2 separate regions of the Homo sapiens genome follow, and region 2 is linked to region 1. Evidence: promoter capture Hi-C in human tissues and cell types (Jung and others, 2019). All regions are on one chromosome and are shown on one strand. Each heading gives the region's core, a stretch centred on a gene start or on the middle of the fragment in contact. The rest is flanking DNA. Distances are from core to core; before and after follow the strand shown. Region 1 holds the start of AUTS2 (activator of transcription and developmental regulator AUTS2). Region 2 has its middle 100 kb from the start of CT66.

What was found. Contacts are between HindIII fragments. The study calls those that stand out against the background at their distance.
Region 2: a contact is called between a fragment that was not itself captured here and the fragment with the promoter of AUTS2 in region 1, in 2 of the 25 tissues and cell types used here (H1 embryonic stem cells and hippocampus).

The regions. Positions count from the first base shown.
Region 1 is chr7:69,596,412-69,600,931 of GRCh38, reverse strand. AUTS2 (activator of transcription and developmental regulator AUTS2) reads right to left here and starts at 2,457. Exons shown (of 19, transcript NM_015570.4): 1 at 970-2,457. The coding sequence starts at 1,278. It overlaps CT66 (cancer/testis associated transcript 66), which reads left to right and starts at 3,308. Exons shown (of 3, transcript NR_148927.1): 1 at 3,308-3,885; 2 at 4,241-4,277; 3 at 4,499-4,520. RefSeq lists silencers at 1,144-1,213, 2,378-2,457, 2,478-2,897 and enhancers at 1,978-2,027, 3,208-3,287. The HindIII fragment of the contact is 7,960 bases long and covers 1-4,520 here.
Region 2 is chr7:69,491,708-69,495,874 of GRCh38, reverse strand. No RefSeq gene overlaps it. Among named protein-coding and RNA genes, the nearest start is that of CT66, 100 kb to the left of the region's middle. The HindIII fragment of the contact is 4,629 bases long and covers 1-4,167 here.

The sequences.
Region 1 (4,520 bases), core at 1,208-3,707:
TGCAGGTGCCCAAGGAATAAAGAAAGACACACACATAGACACACACAAAGCCAATCACTTAGAAAGAAAAAAAAGAAAACACAAAAAAGGAAAGGGAGAGGGACAATTGGTGACAAGCCCTTCAGATAGCAGCTAGGATTTTATTCTTCCCTCCCACCAGTCTTCCCTGGTGTACCTTTTTCTGTCCTTTAACTAAATTGCTCATGTACACACACACATGTGCCTATGTATGTGTATAGATAATATTATAATTAACCCTTTCTGTAACAGAACCCCATACAGAATACAGAGAGCTATTCCACCCTTCCCTCTTCTCTCCCCTCCTCCCTCCTTTCTCCCAACCAGGAGAAAACGCCCCCTTCCCCAGCTTCACCAAAAAAAAAAAAAAAAAAAGAATATGGGGGGGTAATGGGGGGAGGCGCAAAGAAATCACAAAACCCCATCAGTCTCCAGTCCCGAGGACACCCGGGAAAGGTATATACTACACAGACACACACACACACACACACACACACACACACACGAACATATGACTCTGTAGAAAGCACACAGAACCGTCCACAGGCGCCCCAAACCCAGCAAAGAGACTTCCACCAGCCAAGAAGCCATGATTGGGGAGGGAGAGGAGGAAGGAGTGGGGGCAGAGCTCTCTGTGGAGAGGGGGCGCATTGTTGTGATGCCCGAACCCCTTTCTTTCTGCCCATCTGCTGTGGAGGGGGTGCAGGGAGGGGGCGCAGGGGAAAGGCGAGCGAGGAAACGAGACCAGGCACGGCTTTGCGACTCCCTCCTGCTGCCTGTCTGCCCGCGCCCCCAGCTCCCCCCACCAACAATAAGACCTCAGCCTAGACAGACAGACAGACAGACAGACAGACAGACAGCCCGGAGCGCGGCGAGGGAGGCAGGAGAGCCGGGCGCAGCCGAGTGGGGTCGTGCATAAAGGGAACCCGGGGGAAGGGGGGTCCCCCTTACCTCCAGCGCTTCAAAAGTGACAAAGCTGGTCATGGCAAATCCATCAATGATGTCCTCTTCTGCCGAGGTGGACTCTCTCCGCTTCCTCCGCGGGGGTCTGGGCCGGGACGGGGCGGAGGACGGGGGCTTCCCATTGTCTTCCTTGTCGGAGCCCGACGACGAGGCGAGTGAGAGCGCCCGGGTCCGGCCAGCCCCGCCGCCGCCGGCCGCGCCGGCCCCCAGCCCGCCCCGGGAGCGCCTCTCCCGGTCTCGCTGCGACCGCGACCGCCGCTTTTTGCGGAGTCCATGGCCCCGCGTCGGGCCATCCATGGTTCTGCTGCGCCGGGGTCTCCCCGCTTGCCCGCCACAGGCTACGGCCGCAGCCACACAAAAAAAAATTGACACCGAGCCCTCCCTCCCCCTTCACGGCTTCCCTCCGCCCCGAGGAGGGCGCGGGGGAGACGGCGGCCGAAAGAAGGGAGAGAGGGGAAGAAAGAGAGGAGAAAGAAAAGGGGGAAGGGGCGGAGAGAGGGGAGGAGGGACGGGGAGCGAGGGCGAGAGGCGAGGAGCCCAAGTGTGGGGCTCCCCACAGCACCGAGGGTCGGAGATGCCTGGGAGCAGCGCCGAGCAAAGTAATGGCTGAACACACAGGTCTCCTTTAGAGGAAAAAAAAATAACTCACCAAGCAAGCAATAAATCAGAATAGCGGAATGCTTTGATCAAGAGACTGGGAGGCTCCGGGGAGCCCTCCCCGCGGCCATTCTCCGCCGCGCCCCCCGCCCCCCGAAAACGCCCGCGCCCCCCTCAACTCGATCCAAAATCGGGTCCGAAAAAGGTCGCGGGAAAAGTGGGGGCAATGAACTTCACCCGCCCCTCGCGCAGGAAAACACCCCCGCCGCCTCTCACACACGCCTCGGAGAAAACTCACTCCCAGGCTCCCAAATTTTTAAGAAATGCAGCCAGGGGAGGCCGGGGCTCCGGAGCGACCCAAGAGGGGCGAGACCCCCCAGAGAGGGGAGCATAATAATGCAATCATTAGCGGAAGAGAGGGCGAAACTGCGAGCGGCGGAGGAGAAGGGAGGCGGAGGAAGGGAAGGAGGATGCTGCTGGAGCAGTTGTGGGGTTTGCTTTTCGGTCTTCGAGGGGGGAGGAGAGGGAGATGAAAGAAGAGAAGAAGCAAACCCTGTCGCTGCCACCCGCCCCCCTCCTCACAAAAATATTTTTTCCAGTCCCAGAGAAGAGGTCACCCTTCCTCAAAAAAGGGAGGGGGTGAGTCAGTCAGTCGATGAGGAAAGCAGAAAGAAATCTCCAGCGGGAGAGACACCGGTGTGCCGCCGCCGCCGCCGCCGCTTCTCTCGCCGCCCCGCCTGAGGGAGAAGCGCAGCCGGGAACGCTGCTCTCGCCGCCGCCGCTAACGCTGCTGCTGCTGCCGCCGCCGCCGCCGAGAAAGCCCCGAGCCGGAGGGTGCACGGCGTGTCCCCGGGCGGCTGCAGCGGGAGCCCGGGCACTGCCCCATCCTCCGCCCGCCCGCCTGCCTCGCGCAGCTCCCGCTCCTCCCCCTCCGCGGCCAGCCCACCGCCGCCGCCGCCGCCGCCGCCCGCCTCAGCCCAACCCCGCGCCCGCCCGCTCGCTCGCTCGCTCGCTCGCTCGTTCGTGCTTTCGCTCGCTCGCTCGAGTGCGCGCGCTCCCGCGCACCCGCCCTCCCCGCGCCTCTCTCGGCGCGCGCTCCCGCCCCCGCGGCCCCGGCCGGCGGGATCACGTGGACGGCTGGGCTCCCTCCTCCCCCGCCCCCTCCCCAGTTGTAGAGTGTGTAGAAAGCAAAAGGCTGGGGGCTGGCCGCGCTCGCGAGCCCAGGGCATGCGCGCTGGGGCGGCCGGGCCTGCGCACTGGGGGCGGTGGGGAGCTGTGAGGGGGGCGGGGGCGGGGGCGTGGAGGGGGCGCCCGCGTGGGGTCGGCCGCGGCCGGGCAGAGTTGGCGCGCCAGGGCGTGGAAGCCGCCGGAGGATCCCGCCTGTCGCAGCGGGGACGCGTGTGGGCCCCTGCTCCCAGGCCACTTCGCGCGCGCGCCCCCCACATCCTCCTCGGGACACTTGTCCCTGGATCCTCTACCCCTGGCCGGCCCGAGGCCGCCTTCTCGGGAAGCCCCACCAGCCCCCAAGGGTGTTTTCCCTTGGCTACCTGCGCTGCGAGGAGAGAAGGGAATTCAGAGAAGGGGTACAAGGGGGGCGTCCCTGGGAGGGGGCGCGACTGGAGGAGACAGAACGGGGAGCGGGTGCCAAAGCGCGGGCCTTTGCTCCGCCTGGGCGCAGTGGGAGCACCAACTGGCAGAGTTGGAAACTTTTCCTCCACGTGGCACCACAGTGCGTGGACGAGCGACCCCGCGCCCGGATGACCCCTGGGATTCCCGCCTCGTCTTCCAGCGGGGGACCTAGGGACGCACGGGCGGCTTCAGATCCGGGAGCGCGAGGCCTAACAGCCGGGGGCCGAACTTGAACCTCGGAGGCGGCCGCGGGCGAGGGGCGGGGCCGAAGGGGCCGGGACCGCCGCCCCAGCTCGAGGACCCGTTAGACCGGCAAACCGCAGTCCCTGCCCCGCGGGCTTCCTTTACTTTTTGGGAGTGGGGGGCGGTTTCCCTGCTTTTTCCACCACAGCCCCTCCTCCCGCCGCAATGTGGCTGATGCTCATAAAAAGTTGTATTAAAGAGCTGACTGCAGCCGAGAATCGATCAACAAAAGCGACCAGCCTCTCTGGGTAAAATAGCTGTGCGTTTTTCAGGGCACTGGAATTGATCTATACGGATCAGAAAGACCGACAGCCCGCTCTCAGCAGCCTCTTGGATACGCTTCACTTTCTGTCCAGGCACATAAACACCACGGCACCAACCCTTCGTCCTCCCTAGTAGCCCATACTTGTGGAGGAAGAAAAGGAAAATAAACTGGCATGTATTAATTACAATGGGCCAGGCACCGTGCTAGAGCGCTGTGTATATGATTTCACCTCTTTAGAATACAAATGTGCACATTTTATTAGTATTACTGGAAGGAGGGTGGTAGAGAAAACAGTAAGGACGTGTTTTCTCTCACAATCTGACACATCTATGATTGAGTGATTGATTGTTTTTCATTTAACAATTATTAGGCCTTACCAGGCTTAGCAGGCACAGTTGTAGGTGCTGGGAATACAGCGTTGTACAAAACAGAAAAGATACTGCTTCTTGACGTTCTAGCAGGCAAGCCTCTCTCGTCTTATAATTCCTAATAACAATTTAATAGCTTGTCTTTCTCTTGTTTTAGGTCACACTCCTTCAGCTTCCCCGTTTCTGAATCCCAGGTCTGGATCTTTATGAAATCAGATGGAGAGATGGGGTTGGGGGGACGGGGGGGTCAAGTTGCCAGGAACAGAAAGGAACATCCACCCGACTGTGACAGATGAGCTTTATGCCAGTCCAGGAAACAAAACATTTGACCTTAGGCAAGACTTTTTTAAATGACTAGTTTTTTCATCTGTAAATCAAAGAGGTTCAATTAAATGTTCAAAATGTTCCTTTTCAGGTCTATCCACGGCCTTCTCAAC
Region 2 (4,167 bases), core at 622-3,121, 100 kb after region 1:
TGGATGTTGTGGTCATATTGCACTGGGTGAGTGAACCCCAGTTCAATTTGATAACAGAGGTGAGAATTAATTCTGGCTTCAGGGGAGGCTTTTTCTGGACGTAAACAATGTGACTCTCACTCTTTTTCTGACGTGAAGTCTGGCTCTGTTGCCCAGGCTGGAGTGCAGTGGCATGATCTTGGCTCACTGCAACCTCTGCCTCCCGGGTTCAAGCGATTCTCCTGTCTCAGCCTCCTGAGTAGCTGGGATTACAGGCGCCACGACGCCAGCTAATTTTTTTTTTTTTTGAGACAGAGTCTCACTCTGTCACCCAGGCTGGAGTGCAGTGGTGCGATCTCAGCTCAGTGCAACCTCTGCCTCCCGGGTTCAAGCGATTCTCCAGCCTCAGCCTCCCAAGTAACTGGGACTACAGGTGAGCACCACTGCGTCTGGCTAATTTTTGTATTTTTAGTAGAGACCAAGTTTCACTATGTCGGCCAGGCTGCTCTCGAACTCCTAACCTCAGGTGATCCGCCCGCTTCGGCCTCCCAAAGTGCTGGGATTTCAGGCCTGAGCCACCGCACCCGGCCTAATTTTCGTATTTTTAGTAGAGACGGGGTTTCACCATGTTGGCCAGGCTGGTCTTGAACACCTGACCTCAGGTGATCTGTCCGCCTCGGCCTTTCAAAGTGCTGGGATTACAGGCGTGAGCCACTGCACCAGGCCGACTCCCACTCTTCCTCCCTCCTCCATGTCTCAGCTCGGTTTGTTCCAAGCTGGCTCTGTTCTCAGCAGGGCTTCCGACTCTTCGTCCTAGGTTGACACTCAGCTACTTCCAGGACAGTGGCTCTCAACTGGGGGTGATTTTATATTTCCCCTTAGGGGACATTTGGCAATGTCGGGAAACACTTTTGCTTGTTACAACTCTGGGAAAGGGATGTGATGCTGCTAGCATCTGGTGGGTAGAGAACAGGGGTGCTGCTAAACATCCCTTAATGTACAGGACAGCACATCAAAGAATTGCTCAGCCCATAATGTCAGTGCTGCTGAGATTGAGAAACTCTGTCCCAGGTCTGCAAGCTTCCTCTTCCATGTTCAGTAGAGAAGAGAGAATCTATATTCCAGAATTCCCATGAAAAATTCTTGATTAGATCAGTGTGGGCTGGGCACGGTGGCTCATGCCTGTAATCCCAGCACTTTGGGAGGCCAAGGCGGGCAGATCACGAGGTCAGGAGATCGAGACCATCCTGGCTAACACGGTGAAACCCCGTCTCTACTAAAAATACAAAAAGTTAGCCAGGTGTGGTTGCAGGCGCCTGTAGTCCCAGCTACTTGGGAGGCTGAGGCAGGAGAATGGCCTGAACCCGGGAGGCGGAGGTTGCAGTGAGCCAAGATCGTGCCACTGCTCCAGCCTGGGCGACAGAGCGAGACTCCGTTTCAAAAAAAAAAAAAAAAAAAAAAAGATCAGTGTGATAGGTCATGTCTACCTTTTTTTTTTTTTTGAGACAGAGTCTCCTTCTGTCACCCAGGCTGGAGTGCAGTGGCATGATCTCAGCTCACTGCAACCTCCGTTTCCCGGGTTCCTGCCTCAGCCTCCCGAATAGCTGGGATTACAGGCACCTGCTGCCACGCCTGGCTAATTTTTGTATTTTTAGTAGAGACAAGGTTTCACCACGTTGGCCATGCTGTTCTCAAACTCCTGACCTCAAGTGACCCCCCTGCCTCGGCCTCCCAGAGTGCTGGGATTATGGGCATGAACCACCGCACCTGGCAACAGATCCTCTTTTCAAAAGATACTTCCTCTCCTTTGCAACTGCAGTCTTTACTGTTTACTTCCCCTTCTTCCCCAGCCTTTTATTATCTTGACAGACTTAGCTTCTTTACTTCAATCCTCCTCTTAATTTTTTTTTTTTTTTGGCCTCTTTGCCATTAGTGGGTGGAGAAGGGAAGGCATGGAATACACATATTAAATCTTGCTTTTGTTATTTATGCATACATTTATTTTACATGGTTGGAAGCATGTTATATACCAACTCCCCTACCCCCCCGCCCACACACATAATATTGAGTGTCATGATTTTTTCTCTTAATATTGTATAATAAACACTTTCTCATGCTATTAAAAACTATTTGCAGGCCAGGCATGGTGGCTTACTCCTGTAACCCCAGCATTTTGGGAGGCCAAAGCAGGTGGATTGCTTGTGGCCAGTTCAAGATCAGCCGGGGCAACATGGCAAAACCCTGTCTCTAAAAAAAACACAAAAATTAGCTGGGCATGGTGGCGCACACCTGTGGTCCCAACTACTCAGAAGGCTGAGGTGGGAGGATCACTTGAGTCCAGGAGGTGGAAGTTATAGTGAACTGAGATTGCGTGGCTGCTTTCCAGCTTGGGTGACAAAGTGAGACCCTGTCTCAAAAAAAACAAACAAACAAACGAAAAAACTATTTGCAATGACCATTTAAAAATTTTGCATTTGGCCAGGCGCAGTGGCTCATGCCTGTAATCCTAGCACTTTGGGAGGCCAAGGCAGGCAGATTACTTGAGGTCAGGACTTTGAGACTAGCCTGGACAACATGGTGAAACCCCACCTTTACTAAAAATACAAAAATTAGCCAGGTATGGCAGCACATGCCTGTAATCCCAGTTACTCAGGAGGCTGAGGCAGGAGAATTGCTTGAACCTGGGAGGCGAAGGTTGCAGTGAGCCGAGATTGCACCACTGCACTCCAGCCTGGGTGACAGAGCTAGACTCTGTCTCAAAATAAATAAATAAATAAATAAATAAAAATAAAAATAAAATTCCACACAAAAATTCATCATATAGACAAGCTTAAATTATTAATTACCTATTAGTTTTCCCTGAATTTGATATCTTTTATAGTAAATTTATAGAATATGAGAATGGATTCTTTATGTGGCCATTTCTTGGACTTTAGGAGCAAAACTAATGTTAGGCCAGTATTTGCTTTCTGTTGGCTGTGAGTGTAGGGACAGGGTTTCAAGTAGTTTTCAGACTGGGTGAGGTGGCTCACAACTGTAATCCTAGCACTTTGGGAGGCCAAGGCAGGTGGGTCGCTTGAGCCCAGGAGTTGGAGACCATCCTGGGCAACACAGTAAAACCCCGTTTCTATTTATTAAAAAATATAAAAATTTTTTAGAAAGAAAAAAAATCTAGTTTCCAAATGACTGGAGCCTGATCATGTTTGAGTTACCTGGGGGATTTGTTAAAAGTGCACATTCTGAAGCCCTGATTTAGACCCCCTGAATCAGAATCTCTATACCTGGAGCCTGAACAAAGATCCTCTAATCATTCTGATGAATAGTTAGGTTTTGGAACCACTGACATTGTTGACCTATGGCCAGCTTGTGCTGTGTATACATTCTTATTCATAAATACAGGACCAGTTATTATAAAAATGAGACTTTGGAAGTATAGTTCCTGAATGGTACTTGGGGTGGATATTTGTCATTCATCACAGTCATGTAGCAACTGAATCCCATTCTCTGCTTAGGAAAAGCCTCATTTTTTGAATCTTGGTTTAGGGCAAAAACTACCCTGTATAAGCCCTAAAACTATCACTTTTTTTCATTTATTTATTTATTCATTTATTTATTTAATTTTGAGACAAAGTCTTGCTCTGTCACCCAGGCTGGAATGCGGTGGTGCGATCTCGGCTCACTGCAAGCTCCACCTCCCAGGTTCACGCCATTCTCTTGCCTCAGCCTCCTGAGTAGCTGGGACTACAGGCTCCCGCCACCAAGCCCGGCTAATTTTTTTGTATTTTTAGTAGAGACGGGGTTTCACCATGTTAGCCAGGATGGTCTCGATCTCCTGACCTCGTGATCTGCCTGCCTCGGCCTCCCAAAGTGCTGGGATTACAGACGTGAGCCACCGCGCCCGGCCCACTTTTTTTCTTTTAGAGACAAGAGTCTCGCTCTGTCAGCCAGGCTGGAGTGCAGTGGTGCAATCATAGCTCACTGAAGCCTCGAACTCCTGGGCTTAAGAGATTGTCCCACCTCAGCCTCCTGAGTGTCTGGGACTACAAGTGTGCATCATTACACCTGGCTGATTAATTTTTTTTTTTTTTTTGTAGAAATGGAGTCTTGCTATGTTGTCCAGGCTGGTCTTGAACTCCTGGCCTCAAGTGATCCTCTTGCCTTGGCCTCCCAAAATGCTGGGATTACAGG